6 separate regions of the Homo sapiens genome follow, and regions 2, 3, 4, 5 and 6 are each linked to region 1. The links are contacts of gene promoters, found by promoter capture Hi-C in blood cells and fetal thymus (Javierre and others, 2016). All regions are on one chromosome and are shown on one strand. Each heading gives the region's core, a stretch centred on a gene start or on the middle of the fragment in contact. The rest is flanking DNA. Distances are from core to core; before and after follow the strand shown. Region 1 holds the start of ZC2HC1B (zinc finger C2HC-type containing 1B). Region 2 has its middle 15 kb from the start of PHACTR2. Region 3 has its middle 3.9 kb from the start of PLAGL1. Region 4 has its middle 52 kb from the start of PHACTR2-AS1. Region 5 has its middle 39 kb from the start of PHACTR2. Region 6 holds the start of PHACTR2 (phosphatase and actin regulator 2).

Region 1 (2,958 bases), core at 43-2,542:
TCTCTCCTCCCTAACCCCAGTGATTCTAGGCCCTGCTATGGTTCTATGTTTAATTCTTTTCTGAAATCTTTCCCATCTATCCATTCATTCATACACTACTTTGTGACTGTATACTGAATGCCAGGCACCCTTCCAGACCTAAGGATAAAGCAATAAATAAAACACTGTGCCTTCAGGGTTTGTCCTGCGAGAGGAGACTGAAAAACAGTCCTCTGCGTCAACAGATGTTGTGGAGAACATAAACCAGGGAAGGAGGGTCAAGGATGCAGGGGAGGGATGCGTGCAGGATTTTTAAATACAAGCTCAGGGAATAGCCTATAGTGAAGGTTACAGCTGAGCACCAACCATGAGGAAGGTCTGTCTGCAGTGAAAGCACTTCTGGGGGAACAGCAAGTACCAAGATTCTAATTACAAGTGGTACTTACCACGATAGTATTGCCAGTTACATTTCGCTGCACCTATCCTGCCTCCTCAGACCATGTGGCTCCTGAAGGCAAAAACCCTCTGATCTCTTGGGCTCCCAACATTTAGCATGGAGCTTTTATGTTCAGTTCCCAATCATCATTTATAGATTTTTAGAGAACCAAGATATCAGAAAATTCATTTAAAGTATCATGAATTTGTTCTTCAGAATAAAATTAAAATATTTAAGTTTGGAGTATAACCTGCCTAAATCACAATATGCTTCATCAAGACTCATGGCCTAGTCTTTTTCTCTTAATTGCAAAATATATAATATATGGATTTAAACACAGTGAAGTTAGCACCTCATAACACAGAATTTGAGTAACATGACAAAGAAACATCCAATGCCTATTAAGACTCTTGCTGTTTTTGAGAATCTTCAGTTGAGACAGCTATCAAAATAAATGGCCAATCCTTTTAGTACTTACATTCTCAATATTGACATAAACCATCATCTGACCCTTTACTTCACAGGTTGGCATTTAAATACATTCTCTCCAGTATCCTACTTCTGCAATGACAAGCTCTTCAGTCAAGATTTTTTTCTAGCCAATGTTGGTAGAATACCTAATGCCATCAGTTTTGACAACTCTTTAAAAATCCTACAATACTTAGATTTAAACGGATCACACATGGTAGAACAAGCTAATACCTACCAGCTTTGGAAAAGCCATAAATGAATGATTACAGATGAAGGCATTTTCTAATAATTTAGATATCAAGTGCAGCTCACCTGCCAAAAATGGTTCTGCCCCAGCCATTCTGTTCCTAACTCAGAGCAACAGTGTTCACAGATTTTTACAGCCCAGTCCAGATAACATCATACTAGTCAAGAACATAAACCAGGACCACTAATCTGTTGCAAGAAGTCATAGTTTACCAAATAATCAACAATTGTGATGATGTCATTGCCTAAACCTTGAAAAAGTTTAAATCAGTTAAAACAAAAATCAACTCATCAAAAACAGGGAAAGTTTTCAACGATGTATTTTAATCAAGTATGAATGGTTCCAAGCATTAACTGATGTTGAAAAGACAAACTCCCCAGTTTAAACTGAAATAAATATTTCTGATTTTGAACTAGGGACTCACTGAAGCCAAATAAGTTTTCTTATTTCCTTGACTATTCTGTTTCCTGCCTTCACTGTTCCTAAATCCCAAAAGCAAGTCATCCAGTAATATAACAGGAAATATGAATCTTAAGAACCTTAATATTCAGTTTTGCCACACTTTTGAAACAGTCCTTTGTATACAGCAAGGGAAAACTTAGCTTCCTAACAGTGGAACCTTCTCAGAAAAACTCATCTTACACTAAACAGAATAAAGTCAGCATTTCAAAATTGAGTTTAACCAGGCCACTTTTCTATTTACAGCAAATTAAACCATGTAATTCCTGAAAAGGCGTGGAGAGGATTCAAAGAAATATTTGAAAACATCTGCAAAAAACAACTATGACAACCATACAAATAAATGAATACACCAATTCCATTCACGTTATGAAGATATTTTCCTTTAATTTATCAAACATTTCACATTCATGAAGTCATTTACTTCAGAGCAAATGTAAGCTTATAATATTAAAAATTAAAGTATTACAATATTTACAAGATGGTTGGCAGGGGACACTTACTAGTATAAAAATAATACAAATATTGTATTTTCCTCTTATCTGCCAGTAAAAATGGCAAACAGTTTTGTCTTTCTGAAGTTTCTAGTCAATAACCAAAGATGAGGAGCCCCTAATAAAGTGCCTTGCCCTGTATGCTCCACTGTCTATAGCTTTAGACCCTCAACATTCTTCTTCAAGTTCAGCAGCTCTTTTTCTTGCCTTCTTTTCTCCAGTTTAAATGCTAATTTGTTAGCTTTCTTCTCCACTCTTCGTTCCTGTTATAAGTACAAGAATATACTTGTATTATTCACATCTTTAAACTGATACAGACTGCTTTTACAAAATTCCCCTAATTTCCCCTCCACCAGCTCTTTGTAAATCTCACATTTGAAAAATATATTTTACCTTGCGCTCTTCTTTTATAGCTTGCTTTCTTGCTCTTTTATCTTCTTTGCTTTCATTTTTAGAACGTGGCTGAGTTGATACTTTAGGAAGATCACTGCCATTAATCATCTGTATTCTTTCAGTTTGCTTTGCTGTGAGTCCTTTCTTTGGTAAGACATTGAGAGGTATTCCTGTTTTAGAAGATATTCGAATTTGTTTGGGCTGAAATACAGATAAAATGGTACTAGAGTTACTTCTCATTCCTATTAAAAAATAGCTCATTAATGACATACTGTTGATGCTTTTTCTAATATCACTCTAGCCATAAAGATAAAAAGTTATTGTGCGAAAATGTGCACTCTATTTTTTATGCACTGCATCCTTCAAATAGCTCAGCACACTAGGACTTACCTTTGGTTGATACTTGATAAGCTGTGGATGGTTATATAAATTTGAGTATGTACCTAAACAAACAAATAAAAGTCATGTATCAGTAAGCA
Region 2 (3,009 bases), core at 397-2,896, 200 kb after region 1:
TTGAAGAAGAGCATGCTTAAAAAGATGACACAAATTAAGATGGCAATGTAAGTCCAAATTAGTAATCTCAATAAATATGAAAGGAATAAGCTTTCTTATCTAATGACAAAGACTAAAAAATTGTGAGCAGCAGAAACATAGTACATCTCTTTCTTTATCTGTCATTTTTAGAAGACACACCCCAAACAGCAAAAGCTGAAAATAAAAGTATGAAAAATATTTACTAAGAAAATTCTTACCAAAAGAAAATTTATAATCTCAATATTAATAATAGATAAATTAAAACTGAAGGTAAAATAACAAATAGTATAGAGGGACATATTATATAGTGTAATGACAAAAATTATAATCTAACAGGATGTTCAAATTATTATCTCATATATCCCTGACATCAGAACCATATATATATCTAAAGCAAAAACTAACAGAATTACAATGATAAACGGACAGATCCACAATAATAAGGAGAGATTTTTAACATACCATCAAAAACTAATAGATCATGAAAACAAAATATTTTTAAGGTCATGAATTTAAACAATCCCATTGACAAGCTTGATGTAATACACAAACGTGTAGAGACTTGTACTCAAGAAAATGGCAACTGTACATTGATTTAACACTAGATCATAACAGAAATCTCAATAAATTTTAAGTAATTCATATTAAGTAATCCCTGATCTCTGACCATAATGTAATTAAATTAAAAATCAACAAGAAAACCTAGTTAAAAACAGAAATAAAAACCCCTCCCACACATTTTTAGAAACTGAAAGAAACATACTCCTAAGTAACACAAGAAAATCCAATTGTAGCATAAAATATTTAGAACTAAACAACAATGAAAGCACTATAAAACATGTAGAATTAAGCTAATGTGGTAATTAGAGCTATATTTAAAGCTTTAATCGCATTTATTTAAAAAAACAAAGAAAAGATCTATTCAGGGAAAGATAATCACACAAATGAATTAGGTCAATATTAAATGATAAAGCTAAAAAGGGAAAGAAAAGAAAAAAGAACAGAGTAAAAAACAAAATGATAAAAACAAGGGCACCAATGAAACAGAATCTTAAAATCAAGAGAAGTGATTCAATGCTTTGGGATATTCAGTACTTCATTCATCCACGGGGAGGGCAAGCCTTCACTCAGCATGTTGAGAGAGTGCTCTGCAACTTTGAATGAAAAATGTAATTGGAAGAACTTAAAACAGAGTTACCATGTGACCCAAAAATATCATTACTGGGTATATACTCAAAGGGAAATAGATCACTATAGCAAAAAGACACATGCACTCGTACGTTCATCACTGTGCTATTCACAATAGCAGAGACATGGAATCAACCTAGGTGCTCATTAGTGGGGGCCTGGCTAGAGAAAACGTGGTACAAATACACCAGGGAATATTATACAGCCATAAAAAAAGAATGAAATAATGTCCTTTGCAGCAACATGGATGCAGCTGGAGATCATATCCTAAGCAAATTAATACAGGAACAGAAAACCAAATATCACATATTCTCACTTATAAGTGGGAGCTAAACATTGAGCACACATGGACATAAACATGAGAACAATAGACACTGTGTACTATAGGGGGAAAGGAGAAGAATGTGGGTTGAAAAACTACCTATTGGGTACTCTGCTCACTGTCTGGGTGCAATATACACCCATATAACAGTCCTCCATACATACCCCCTGTATCAAAAATAAAAGCCGAAATTAAAGAAAAAAAGAAAAAACTAATTGTAATATAGGTGAAGACAATTCACAATTCAAGATGAAAAACAAAACTGCCTGGTAGTCATAAGAACTGAAACATCCCTAGTAGGAAGGTGAATTTAAATATTACTGTTTTGCATTCAGGGAAAAATACAGATGCATTTTTAGTGTTGTTTAAAACACTTTCATTATTCAATAGTTCAGCATTTTATAACTAAAAACAGATGAAGAACTCCTACCCACTACTTATTTTTACTTTCTGAAGAGTAAATAGATATCTGTAATATTTTTTATTTGTAGTACAATGATATCTTTAAAACTCCAAACGACATCTTAAGGGAATAACAAACAAAATAAGTAGTTTCTTATATTTAACAGGCTTAACTTCATCTCTTCTTTACTTTTATGTTCCTTGTATTTTAAAATAGGGGAAAAAAAGCTATAAAGTTATTTCCTAAAACACACTTAGTTTTATTAGAACTTAAATCTAAGAAATGCCTCCAAGTAAAACAGCTCTCTAGGGTAAGTTGTGCATATTGAAGAGGCTTTTTAATATAAAATGGATTTCAGTAACTGCAAATTACTTCTCAATTAGGGAATGTTGACACATTCTCCAAACAGGTGATAAAGATGGGAGCTGAGAAAGGGGGAGGAGCAATGAAGCTTGCAGGTGCTCTGACTTAATCTTTCATCAAAACAAGATTTATTCAGGGAGAAATCATGTAATCACACAATTAAGAAGTACATATACAAAATGTGCTTGGAATATTGCCATTTTAAATCCACACATCACCCTCCAATGCAATGAGGGTCTTTTGCTGAGGGGTTTTCATTCCTCCAAATTTTCCAGGTAGAGAACTTGCAATTTTGAGAATGCACAAGGGAAAATTTTAGGTCAGGTGCAGTGGCTCATGCTTGTAATCCCAGCACTTTTGGAGGCTAAGGCAAGCGAATCACATGAGGCCAGGAGTTCGACATCAGCCTGGTCAACCTGGTGAAACCCCTTCTCTACCAAAAATACAAAAAATTAGCCAGGTGTGGTGGTGCATGTCTGTAGTCCCAGCTACTTGGGAGGTTGAGTAGCTTCCCTTTGAACCTGGGAATAGGAGGTTGTAGTGAGCCGAGATTGTGCCACATTCCAGCTTGGGTGACAGAGCGAGACTGCCTCAAAGAAAAAAAAAAAAAAAGAAAGAAAATTTTAGAAAAGGGCCAAATATACGATAAGAAACAATCTTTACCTAAAAGCTTTTTTATTTTATTTGCAAAATTATTGTTATACTTTGATAT
Region 3 (3,281 bases), core at 257-2,756, 150 kb before region 1:
CACACAGGAGAAAGCACATGGCACGCACAGAGAAGGCGTTGTGAAGATGGAGGCAGAGATTGGCATGCTGTGGCCGCAAGCCAAGGAAGCCGAGGAAGCCAGGGAATGGCAGTGGTCACCAAAAGCTGGAAGTTGTGAGGAAGGAATCTCCACTAGAGCCACTAGATGGCGCCTGCGGCCTTTGCTGATATCTTGATTTCAGACTTCTGGCCTTTCGGACTCAGAAAATAAATTTCATGTTTTATGCCACCAGTTTGTGGTAATTTGTTATGGCAGCTATAGGATAAAATATAGCCACTATCTGGCTAAGGAAGTTCCATTCCATTCCTAGTTGTCATTTTTTTCAGGATGGGGTGTAGTTGTCAAATGCTCTTTTTGCATCAATTGAAAATAACATTTTCCCCCTCCATTATTTTGTTAATGTGGGCATAATCTGTATGATTGTCTGCCCATGTGGTATTAATTTTAGCCCCATCATAGCTGTTACCCCTGGTAACACCTGTTCCTGAAAGTGTTGGGTCCTGACACATTGTATCAACCTATAGATGTGTCAGCATGAATTTTCTTGTTCTGCATTTGCTGAAGAAATGTTAAGAAGTCATTCAATAGTCTGCAGAATAAAATGGAATCTCCAAATACTTAGAGAAAAAGTGTGATTATGGAATTTGTCCTGAGGGGTTCTGTCTACTACAGTGACCACGCTGGCAACCCTTGGGTCCAGTTTGACCTGGAGAAATACTTCATGTGGCCTCTGCAGTGTTTCCAAAATTAGAAGATTTTATATTAAAATGTTAGATAGCATACTTCCCTTGAAAATTATGCAGATGTGGCAACCCTGCCCTGAGTTCAAACATGGCAGCCATTGGCCTGAGCTGAGCATCTGCCCCTTACACAAAGAATGTCCTTTTCACTTTACCACAGTCCCATTGTTCCTCACTGTTTTAAACTTTGTAGAGATTTGAGTTTGCAACCCCTGCTCCAGAAGCTTTGCTAGGGCATGCTGTAATGCCAAAGCATGCGTCATTGAGGGAAAGCTCAGGAGAAAAAGAGTGTGTCACAGCTACCAGGTCAACATAGTCATGTTCAAAGAGACCACTGTGGAAATAACCTAAAGATAAAAAAGGATTTCATATAGTTCATTACCAGTGAGAAAGAAAGACTGCTTGACTGACTTCTGGATAAAGATGGCACAAGGAAGCACTAAAAAAATCAAAATTAAAATACTAAATCATCCAGGCATGGTGGCTCACGTCTGTAATCCCAGCACTTTGGGAGACTGAGACAGGCGGATCACCTGAGGTCAGGAGTTTGAGACCAGCCTGGCTAACATGGCGAACTTCCCCCCAACCCAGCACCCCCATACCAGCCTCTACTAAAAATACAAAAATTAGCCGGTTGTGATGGTGCACGCCTATAATCCCAGCTACTCAGGAGGCTGAGACAGGAGAATTGCTTGAACCCGGGAGGCAGGTTGCGGTGAGCCAAGATCATGCCACTGTACTCCAGCTTGGGTGACAGAGCGAGACTCTGTCTCAAAAACAAAACAAAACACTAAATCACCCAAAGGAAAGAAAGCAACAAAAAACTTACATGCTGCAACCAAAGAAGAAAAAAGTACAACCTTATAATGTAAAATTTGAGAATTGATAGCAAAAACAAAGAGAACAGAAGATTCTATGGAGGCGTGCTTTGTCTCCAGATGAACCTATGTCTGCCCAGCCCTCCACCCACCGCTGCAAGACATGTTGAGGAAAAAGATGATCAGACCAAATCCTAAGAATTCTCACAAACGTCCCCCAATGTGGAAAGGCAGGGCACACCTGTGAGATGTTGAGGAACCTTTGCATACCACTGTTGGATCTTGCCAGAGGCAGGAAAGTTTCCCACTTTCTGGGATACTGTGCTGAACTGAGCAAATGAACTGAAACTCTGAGGCATGGGATGTTCCCTTGGCTAGCTTGAAGTCCAGCTGCCAGAGGACTTAAAGGAATCTCAGATGTGAAGGTTGAGTTCCTCCAGCAAGCTTTATACTCTGTCTGAGCTGAATTCCACACATCCCCTTTTCCCCCACCTCTCCTTGTCCGAAAAACCTTGGATCACAGAACAAGTAGATAGAAACAACATTCAGCCCTGAAAAAGCAGCGTATTCAGATATATAATATACATGGGACATTAGAAAAGAACATAATCTATAAATTGGAAGATCATACTGTATGCTGGGGGGAAAAATTGATCTAGAATAACTGACACAGAGGCATAGCCCAGATAAGAATACTAAAGGGTATATTAATGTTAAAGAATTCTTCAGGTATCCAAGCAGAAAAATCAAGCCACCTCCAAGGGGAAAATTACATGGGATTAAGATCTTTCCACAGAAATCTTTGAAGCATTTCTCTAATGACCAGTAATGATGAGCTTTTTTCATATGTTTGTTGGCCACATAAATGTCTTCTTTTGAGAAGTGTCTGTTCATATCCTTTGCCCACTTTTTGATGGAGTTGTTTTTTTCTTATAAATTTGTTTAAGTGCTTTGTAGATTCTGGATATTAGCCCTTTGTCAGATGGATAATTGCAAAAATTTTCTCCCATTCTGTAGGTTGCCTGTTCAGTCTGATGATAGTTTCTTTTGGTGTGCAGAAGCTCTTTAGTTTAATTAGATCCCAATTGTCAATTTTGGCTTTTGTTGCCATTGCTTTTGGTGTTTTAGTTATGAACTCTGCCCATGCCTATGTCCTGAATGGTATTGCCTAGGTTTTCTTCTAGGCTTTTTATGGTTTTAGGTCTGATGTTTTAAGTCTTTAGTCCATCTTGAGTTAATTTTTGTATAAGGTGTAACGAAGCGGTCCAGTTTCAGTTTTCTGCATATGGCTAACCAGTTTTTCCCAACACCATTTATTAACTAGGGAATCTTTTACCTATTGCTTGTTTTTGTCAGGTTTGTCACAGATCAGATGGTTGTAGATGTGTGGTGTTATTTCTGAGGACTCTGTTCTGTTCCATTGGTCCATATATCTGTTTTGGTACCAGTACCATGCAGTTTTGGTTACTGTAGCCTTGTAGTGTAGTTTGAAGTCAGGTAGTGTAATGCCTCCAGCTTTGTTCTTTTTGCTTAGGATTGTCTTGGCTATACGGGCTCTTTTTTGGTTCCATATGAAATTTAAAGTAGTTTCTTCTAATTCTGTGAAGAAAGTCAATGGTAGCTTGATGGGGATAGCATTGAATCTATAAATTACTTTGGGCAGTATGGCAATTTTCATGATAATTGATTCTTCCAATCCATG
Region 4 (2,893 bases), core at 32-2,531, 240 kb after region 1:
TGCCACATCTGGGGTAGGACTAAGGAAACCAACGGTAAGGTAACATTGCCCTTGAGCAGTTTCCTGGCCAGTGGGGAGACCAGATGTACGCGAGGAGAACAGCACATTGCCAAGCAAAGCAGCAGGAACACACAGTACTTGGGATGAGAGGAAGAGTCTGGGGAGCTGGGACCTAGGACTACATGACCAGAGGTGGTGACAGTGCTGGTGACACAGGGGCCTTGTGTGACGTTTTGGGCTTGAATTTTATCCTGAGGTTTGGGCAGGATCTCTGGAGATTTCTAAATTGGATGATGAGGAAACATTAAAAGATATAACCTAGCTGTCCACCTCCATTATGTCAAGAACCAGGAAATCAACCGAACTGCAACTCGGCCCGAATAAATGTAAAAAATTCACAAACTCCAGCCCACACAAGTGAATCATACACTGCCCAAGGCCTCAGTGGGGTCTGTGTACTATCATTTTGAACAAAAGGATAACACTCTTGATTATTTGGTTTCCCAGACCACACACACAAAAAGAAGAAAACAGCAGATTAGAAGGAGGGAGATGGGAGCTGCCAGAAGCAAGTGCACAACAGCAAAATGTGAGAGGTGAGCAAGGCAGGAACTCAGGGAGCCAGAGCAGGGGGACCTGGGGCCAAGTGATCACCTTGGGAGGTAGCTGAGAGGAAGAAATGAGCTACTGTTCGCAAAGATTTAAAGTCCACGTAGGTGCAAAATGAATCTATGTTACATAATACTTACTACTCAAGCCAAGTACAATCAACCCTAAACTACAGATGAGGAAAGTGAGGCTCATGGATATGCCCAAGGCCCCATACCAGCAGGTAGAACAGGCTCAGCCAGGAACTGCATTCTTCTTTTACAACTCTAATTCCATTCCTTTGCACAATCCCACACTATTCAAGGGTTGGGGTATGTTCAATTTGAGAAAGCCAGTAAATGTGATTAAATATAAGAAAGAGTTGCAATTTAATGATTCTCATGCAAAATACCAATTAAAATAAAGCGTTGGTGCTTGACAGGTGAGCTTCCTTGTAGCTGCTGGCTTCCCAAGTCCTGTGCTACTCTAGAGAGAGAGGCAGGAACTATGGGAAGGATTTGCCCTTCTGCACCGAGGAGGCCTGAGAGGGCTCGGGATCCACAGGAACTCATTCGCGCCCTCCTGAGTTTTCTTTGTTGTCAATTCACACCAAATTGAAGAAGCCAGAATGAAACCTGTGGGGGCCTCCTGATGTTTTCTGTAGACCCGTTTCATAAGCCAGGTGTCTACCTTGGTCTCTCCCTATAATCTGTCCACATTCCCTACCCAATCCTCCAATCCCTTCTCTGAAACTGGATTTCCAAGCTCAGTCTCTGTGTGAAAATGCTAAGGCTTCTTTAATGATCCTGCTCTTGTTCTTTTCCTGGAGGTTTGCACTGTCCCCCATCTGCTGCCCACCTGCCATATAAGTATATGCCCTGCATATGTGGGCTCCACTAATTAATGAGCCTCTATTGGAATTTCCAGCTGATTTCCAGTCCCTGATCACCTGGTTGCATATCCTAGTACAGAGAGCTTCAACATAGCTGATGGGGACAGTTGTGTTTTGTGACCAAAACTGTGACCAAAGCCTGTCCTCCAGTGAGACAGCCTTTGAGGCCAGGGCAAATACAACCACATTTCCCTAAAAACAATATTGCATGCGTCCCAAAGGGTAAACTGTGCCTGGCTTTCCCCCTGCATAAAAGCCAATGGAAATCACATTTGGCATGGCCTATGCCTTGTGGGTTGGCCGATGGCCAAGCATATACTCAAGCAGACATGGATTTTATATGTCAGGGCAACATTTTTTATGTGCAGTTAAGCTGTGCATGAGGCTGCTGTCTGAAAAAATAAATAAATAAACTTCTCTGCCTTAGTTTCATATCTATAAAAGCAGAACTGATGATTTGAAGTATTTACATAATTCACCGGAGAACTGTGAGAAACAAGCTATATTTGTAAGCATTTTTGAAGATGAGAGGAATTTGGTGAAGTATGTACAGCATTTTTTTTTTCCAAAAAAAAAAAACTTCATTTCTTACTAGCCCTGCATTGAAAACATAATTTTCTGGGACATGATTTTGTTTTACAGTAACCCAGGTGCTCAAGGGTACTTTGGGAGTTTTTGTAGTTTCGAGGTTCCATGAAAACCTTCCCTGAGACAGCTAAAGACAAAGCCCACATCTGTTAGTATAAGAGACACCTTTGTTTATGGAGCATTAGGGCTGTGACAAAAAGACTGACATAAGCCAGGATATTTAGAAGTTAAAGCTGGAGCTTTATTCTAAATGTATGCTACAGAGCTCCTGGTTTTCCACGAAGTCTGGATTTTAAAAACAAAGTTGGCTTTAATTTTCAACTATCTGGCTTTTTTCAACTATCGTCACAGTCATACAGTTATTTAAACAAATGTCTTTGAACTTCCTTAACTTAAAAAAGTGACCCTAAGGTTAATGAATGTTGTGAAATGCTTACTGTTTGAACAAATGAACTGACCCCCCACCCCCGACCGAGTGACATGTTCTGTAAGTACCACAAGCAAGCATGATCGGCGCTGTGAAGACTATAGAATCTCACACAGGGGACCTAAGATATTTTCACTCTTTATACCATACTGACCGCTGTCAAAGTTTGGGACTGGCTATATTTCCTTTTATCCCCTTATTAAAAATGCCCCAAGTCAAGCTGCTTTAAAAATGGAGGGTTGCCAAATTTCCCTTACTAAGAAAATAAGACCCAGGATGTGAAGTGCAGAGGCATGCAGCAGGTGGTAAATTAAAGACAAGTTGGGTGTACAGTTTTAAGCAAGTCTCAGTTAATGATACAAAAGCTACCGAGTCCCTTTCCACAGTAAGTGGAGGAA
Region 5 (2,925 bases), core at 327-2,826, 230 kb after region 1:
CTTTTGTTTGAGAACGTTATTCTATTCTATTTGACTGAGTGACCTGGTTAACTTTGCTCATCTATCCATCTTTTGTGTCTTCTTCTGGAATACCTTCTGGAGGAACTGACTGAGGCTGTTTTACAGTGACCTTTTAAAAAACAGTAAGTAGAAGCAGTACACTCTAAAATGGTGATTAAAAGTATAGTAAATCCACAAACCGGTAACATAGACATTTGTTGTCATTATCAAGCATTATGCACTGTACATAATTATATGTGCTACACTTATATACAACTGGCAGTGCAGTAGGTTTGTTTACACCAGCATCAGCACAAACTTGTGAGTAAAGCATTTGCACTATGACAGCACAACAACTGTGACATCACTAGGTTATAGGAATTCTTCAACTCTATTACAGTTACACAGAATTACCATCATATATGTGGCCCACTGTTGGCAGAAACATCATTATGTAGCACATGACTCTATTAATAACAAGTTGTTATTCCTTGCTTCCTCCAGCTTCTGGAGGCTAGGAACCAGAACACATTATCTTTAGAGTAGTTATGTTGACTTCTAATTTCATTGCACTACAGTGAGAAAATGTAATGCAAATCAAATCACCCTTCAGTGGTTCTTAAAACTTCTTTTGTGACTGTGTAAATAGTCAATATTTGTGTATGTTTCATATTTGCCTAAGAGGAATGAATATCTACTTGTTGTGTGCAGAGTTCTTGATCAATTACATCAAGCTTGTCAACTGTCTTGCTCAAACCATCGCTATCCTTACTCATGATGGGGTATGCTAATCCATCATCAAAGGGAGAGTTAGTAATCCCTCCCGCTATAATCAGGCTTTCTCACTCCCAAACCTAAAGACTTTTCCCCAGCACAATTAATTCTTTTTGAATGGGCCAAATGTCATCTAGATGCCAAAAGTAAAAATAGGTGATCTACATAAGCAGAAAACAAAAGTGTGAATTAAAAATAAGAATTATTTTGCTTGTGTCACTTATAAAATGGCTCTGAATATGCTTTCACTTAGTAATTTTTGAAATGTTTTGAGCAATGATAGCCTTGATGGCATAAACACTAACTCCCAACGTGATTTAAAGATTAAATCACTATATAAAGTTCTGTTACATTTGTTTTACAACATTACATTGCTATAGGTATATCTTACCATTAATTTGTTTTGGAAAGACAGACTGTACTTCAGGTACTTTGCAGCAATTGTCATTTTATGAAGCATGTCATTGGTGGCTCATGAAAGCAGAAAGATGTAATGATTCAAAAATAATTCAGAAGAATATTGGACACTGTTAAAAAATTATGCATAAGTATGTAGATTCATCTGACTTTATCAGCCCTTGGCTGAGGCTTTTGATGCTACACTGAATAATTTTATTGCCTGACAACTGGGCAAAGAGAAAATGATCATTAAGGAGATAATGTCATTCATAGTTTTGGGGAAGCTACGAACACTCTAAATTACAATTTTTAGACAGAATAAATTTTGTAAACTACTGATTATTAAGGACAAATATGCAATTGGGCAGGAAAATTGACAGAGTAGAACAAAGGAATTTATCTATATTGCTAGAAAGAGCAATGGACAAGACACATGTACTTCCCTATATGCAAGAAGCATTGTCTGTGGATTTACTATTCTTAAAATATTTGAAGGAAAAGTATGATGAATCTGCCTGCTAACATTCATCTTCTAACTTCACTGCCCTTTTTTAAAAGTATGTATTTAGCATTTTTTCTTAAGCAAATATACATTTGGGGTGTTTAATGCTTAATATAAAATGAAAAATTAGCTCAAAACTTGGATAGCTGGGTGTGTGTGTGTGTGTGTGTGTGTATGTGTGTGTGTGTAATACTTTTTTTTTTTTTTGAGACAAGGTCTTGCTCTGTGGCCCAGGCTGGAGTGCAGTGGTATGATCATAGTCACTGCAGCCTTGAACTCCTGGGCTCAAGCAATCCTCCCATCTCAGCCTCCTGAGTAGCTGGGACTATGGGCATGCACCACCATGCCCAGCTAATCTTTTAATTATTATTTTTGTATAGACGGGGTCTTGCTATGTTGCCCAGGCTGGTTTCAAACTCCTGGCCTAAAGTGATCCTCCCACCTTGGCTTCCCAAAGTGCTGGGATGATAGGCATGAGCCACTGCACCTGGCATTCCTCTGCTTCTTTTTAAGCCATAGCGATCACTGAATTTGTAACTGCCAATCAAGCTCTCAGCAATACTATAACTTAAGTCTCTATTTGCTACAAGGAAGACCTTAGTATTTGTGGTTTCTGTCTATATTTACTGAAATAATTCATCAACTACACACTAAAAATATTATTGTAACCTTGCTCTGGAATCATTAGATTGTTTTTACCAGAAATGCTATTGCTTTTGTTTGAAATTGACATGAAAGCTTTGTGGTGGACTGACACTTAGATGATCCCCCCATGATCACTGCCTCCTGGTGTTCAAGCCTTTGTGTAATCCTCTCCCTTTAAGTATGGGTGGGACCTGTGTCTTGTTTCTAACAACTAGAACATAGCAAAGGTGACGGGATGTCACTCCCATGACTATGTTATCACGTTTGCCAAAGGCGAAGGGATGTTTCTCCTGTGATTGTATTATGTTATAAAAGACTCCCATTGCTACAGCAGATTTGCATTAGAGCCTTGCTCTCCTTGCTGGCTTTGAAGAAGCAAGCTGCCATGAGTGCTGCAGCTGCAAAGAACTGACTCTGCTAACATGGGACCAGTCCCTTTTCCCCAGTCAAGCCTCCACATGAGGACTGTGTCCTGCCCAACACCTAAAGTGTAGCCTTGCAGAAGACCCAGCTAAGTTGTGCCTGAACTCCTGACCCATACAAGCTGTGACATAGTTAATATGTGTTGTGTTAAGCTGCTAAATTTGTGATAATTTGTTATGCAA
Region 6 (2,940 bases), core at 345-2,844, 190 kb after region 1:
CCTAAAGTCAAAACGGGGAAAGCAAGCTAACTTCTAGCCTATAATGAAGATTTTTACAAAAGGCCAAATTGAGCGATAAGTATGAATAATTAAACTCTGTGCTATTGATTCCTTTGACTTAAACAGATTTTCGCCCACTAAGCATTTAAGATGAGAATCATCTTTAATACTGTAATCCTAAGCAGCTGCTCCAGACTTAAACAACTAGTCAATGGCTAAGATCAAACAGAACAAGGATCTTCACGCCATCTGTAAAGCCAGAGTTAAACAGTTAACAAGGAGTGAACAAAATACCTGGAATAGTAGAGAGTTTGACAGTCTCAGACTCAGAAAAATACAGACATGAATATAAAACTCAGCAAACGTTATTTAATTTAAATTTTTTTTTTTTTGGTTTTCATTTGGAATCTGATGGCAAACCTTCAGGGAAACAGGGTAGCTCTAACGGATTTAGAGACACTGGATACCACGAGAAAACTGTTCTTTTACAATACCACAACTTAAGTCATAACCACTGTCATTCCTTAACTGAAAAATAAAAAACCCTGTATTTATGATGTATGGATTGGTCATTTCAATTCATACAAACTTTTAATCCGCAAAACTGAGGACCTGCAATTTAAGTATAACACCGTTCCGTGAGATATTTCTCTGAATTATCTTTCATGATCAAGCATAAATTTTTGTTTAAAACACTTTTTACTTAAGTAGATTACAGTTTCTCATTATAATCAGTCATTTTATTTGGAATTATAGCAATCCGGGTTTTTTTGCTGTACTAAGACGTAGGGAGTCTCACTTTAGGATTTTATTTGCTTCTTAGACATCATTTATATAATATTCCTTGATTTTTATTAAGGCAAAATTTGCTTTTCTAATATTCACTCGAGTAATATTTTGTGATAAAATCACTAAATTCAGGACAATACTTTCTGTATACTCTTGTATTGGAGTACAGATTTAATTCTATCTTCGCCGGTGCACAAATGTAAAAATATAACCCTTCCTTGAAATGAAAAGAAGTCTCACACCACTTTAAGGTAAGACAAAGGAAACCAAGTCTTATTTGCACAAAATAGTTTACTAAATTTAAAATCCTACTCAACCCCTCCCCGCAAATATCTCTCAAAAAGCTGTCAACATGAGGTCTTTGATTTCAGAGCTGTAGCCATGTCATTAATGGTAAAGAAGGTATATTCTGATTCTGATGTCTCTTCTTTGCAGAAGGGTCTTCTGTGGTATTAACAGAAACCTCAGCAAAGCTTGTGGTATCTCAGGGAGTGAAGCTGTGCTACCTAAAGAAACCCACTGGGTATAAAGTGGGGTGGGGGGTTGGAATGACAGAATGCTATCTAGCTAGACATCCTGAGGCAGATTAAAAAACCTTCCTCTGTACCCTGTCATTTCCTTTCAGCAAGATCCTGTTGATGTTTGCACAATTTAAAAAGTGTATCAAATATCTCAATGAGTAACATAAACGGTCCCTTCGAGTATTATTTATTTTTAATCGTTGATGGAAAAATATCAAAATAGTACCTTTTAAATTTATTTCCTTATCCAATCACAAGTAACACCACCAAACAGTTTTTTTTTTTTTTATCCCTACACTGTCGGGGAAATGCCAGACGTACCTTCCTTCCCTCTTTTTGTTTAAGAAAATGGAAAAAAGAAACTTTTAAAACAGAGCATTAGAACTCAGACACGTTACACACGTCTCCATAAAACTAACTTTAGTCCTGGAGAACTAAGTTCATGAGATATGTTTCCCTAAATGTTATAGCTGCTGTATCTACTATAAACAAAACAAGTCTCATTTGAAACAATTACGCATTTCGGGGCTAGTTATTAAGTATTCAGCGTCTGCCAGGATAAGGCGATCAGCGCTTCTACTCCGAATAACAAACCATAAATCAGTTGACAAGCTTGAAAGCATTCAGTCCTAGTCTGTTCGGAAGCCAAGCGTAAATACAGAAAAACCTGTTGGCATGTTTCTCTTGCTCTCTAAGTTTCGCGTTTTTAAAAACACTGTAATACGCAAATGGCGTTTCCCGTAAGTTTCTGGCTCCGAAATAATTTGGATAAAAAACCACAGCGAGGCATCGCGCACAGAAAAATGGAGCCTGTGCCTTTAAGGTAAAATCGGCTGGATCCCAAAAGGCATTCCTCTTTCACGACAAAGAGTTTGGCGAGCGCTACCTCTGGGGTTTCTCCGAGGGACTTGGCGGGTCCGAGCGGAACCCGACCAGACGACTAACCCTGCCTGCCCCGGGGCCCCGCCGCCAGCCCTGCGCCCGCGCGGCGGGAGCGCATCGCGTGCGCCCCGGACTCACCGCTGCCGGGCTGCGGGGACAGCGTGGACACCGAGGTCTGGCCCATGACTGGGGTCGCAGGGCCAGGTCCAGCGATCAAGCGGCTCCTTTGGTCCTTCGATCATGGGTCCGCTCCCAGCCAGACTTCCAGGCGTTCATGTCCCGGCCTGTGCCGAGCGGCCCGCCGGGTCCCCTCACCTTCTACCCCGCGCGGGTCTCCCAGCCCGGCCGGCCGCAGCCGGCGCGGCGGATCCTGCCCAGCGGATGCCTGTCATTCCTCTATGCAGATTAGCTGGGGTCAGGGGTCACGGGGGAAGAAGGGGGGTGAGGGCGATAGGGAGGGGAGGAGGGGGAAGCGGGGGGAGGGCGCAGGAGCAGGGGGTGGGGGAAGCCCCCAGCCGGCCCCGCCGCACCCGCACCCCCTCAGGGTGGTAGGGAGTTCAGGCTTTCAGACTACTCCTCTTTGACTTAAAAGGTTCAAAGTCAAATGATCCTTACGGGCTACAAGAAAAGGAATTAAAGTATTTAGTCACGGTACTTAATTTAACAAAATTTGTTTCTTAAAAGTTATTTCCTTCCTTACATTCTATTTGCAGTATTGTGGCACTCTCATGTCTTGTGCCCATTTTTT

What was found. The method cuts DNA at HindIII sites, captures the fragments that hold promoters and counts their contacts. A CHiCAGO score of 5 or more calls a contact.
Region 2: a fragment that was not itself captured here is called in contact with the fragment with the promoter of ZC2HC1B in region 1 in 3 of 17 cell types (megakaryocytes, erythroblasts and M1 macrophages); the score reaches 7.4 in megakaryocytes.
Region 3: a contact is called between a fragment that was not itself captured here and the fragment with the promoter of ZC2HC1B in region 1, in 2 of 17 cell types (M1 macrophages and erythroblasts). The highest score is 5.8, in M1 macrophages.
Region 4: a contact is called between a fragment that was not itself captured here and the fragment with the promoter of ZC2HC1B in region 1, in 1 of 17 cell types (neutrophils). The highest score is 5.1, in neutrophils.
Region 5: a contact is called between a fragment that was not itself captured here and the fragment with the promoter of ZC2HC1B in region 1, in 1 of 17 cell types (erythroblasts). The highest score is 5.9, in erythroblasts.
Region 6: a fragment that was not itself captured here is called in contact with the fragment with the promoter of ZC2HC1B in region 1 in 2 of 17 cell types (megakaryocytes and erythroblasts); the score reaches 7.5 in megakaryocytes.

Annotation. Positions count from the first base shown.
Region 1 is chr6:143,862,808-143,865,765 of GRCh38, reverse strand. It overlaps ZC2HC1B (zinc finger C2HC-type containing 1B), which reads right to left and starts at 1,292. Exons shown (of 8, transcript NM_001013623.3): 1 at 1,199-1,292. The coding sequence starts at 1,226. It overlaps LTV1 (LTV1 ribosome biogenesis factor), which reads right to left. Exons shown (of 11, transcript NM_032860.5): 9 at 2,870-2,922; 10 at 2,480-2,680; 11 at 1,954-2,349. The coding sequence ends at 2,239. The HindIII fragment of the contact is 3,305 bases long and covers 1-2,035 here.
Region 2 is chr6:143,661,463-143,664,471 of GRCh38, reverse strand. It overlaps a transcript of PHACTR2 not described here. Among named protein-coding and RNA genes, the nearest start is that of PHACTR2, 15 kb to the left of the region's middle. The HindIII fragment of the contact is 1,483 bases long and covers 905-2,387 here.
Region 3 is chr6:144,010,486-144,013,766 of GRCh38, reverse strand. It overlaps a transcript of PLAGL1 not described here. Among named protein-coding and RNA genes, the nearest start is that of PLAGL1, 3.9 kb to the right of the region's middle. The HindIII fragment of the contact is 1,038 bases long and covers 988-2,025 here.
Region 4 is chr6:143,619,598-143,622,490 of GRCh38, reverse strand. It overlaps a transcript of PHACTR2 not described here. Among named protein-coding and RNA genes, the nearest start is that of PHACTR2-AS1, 52 kb to the right of the region's middle. The HindIII fragment of the contact is 8,835 bases long and covers 1-2,893 here.
Region 5 is chr6:143,637,501-143,640,425 of GRCh38, reverse strand. It overlaps a transcript of PHACTR2 not described here. Among named protein-coding and RNA genes, the nearest start is that of PHACTR2, 39 kb to the left of the region's middle. RefSeq lists an enhancer at 2,318-2,861. The HindIII fragment of the contact is 1,679 bases long and covers 737-2,415 here.
Region 6 is chr6:143,677,600-143,680,539 of GRCh38, reverse strand. PHACTR2 (phosphatase and actin regulator 2) reads right to left here and starts at 2,575. Exons shown (of 13, transcript NM_001100164.2): 1 at 2,331-2,575. The coding sequence starts at 2,376. RefSeq lists a silencer at 2,334-2,633 and an enhancer at 2,383-2,940. The HindIII fragment of the contact is 660 bases long and covers 1,265-1,924 here.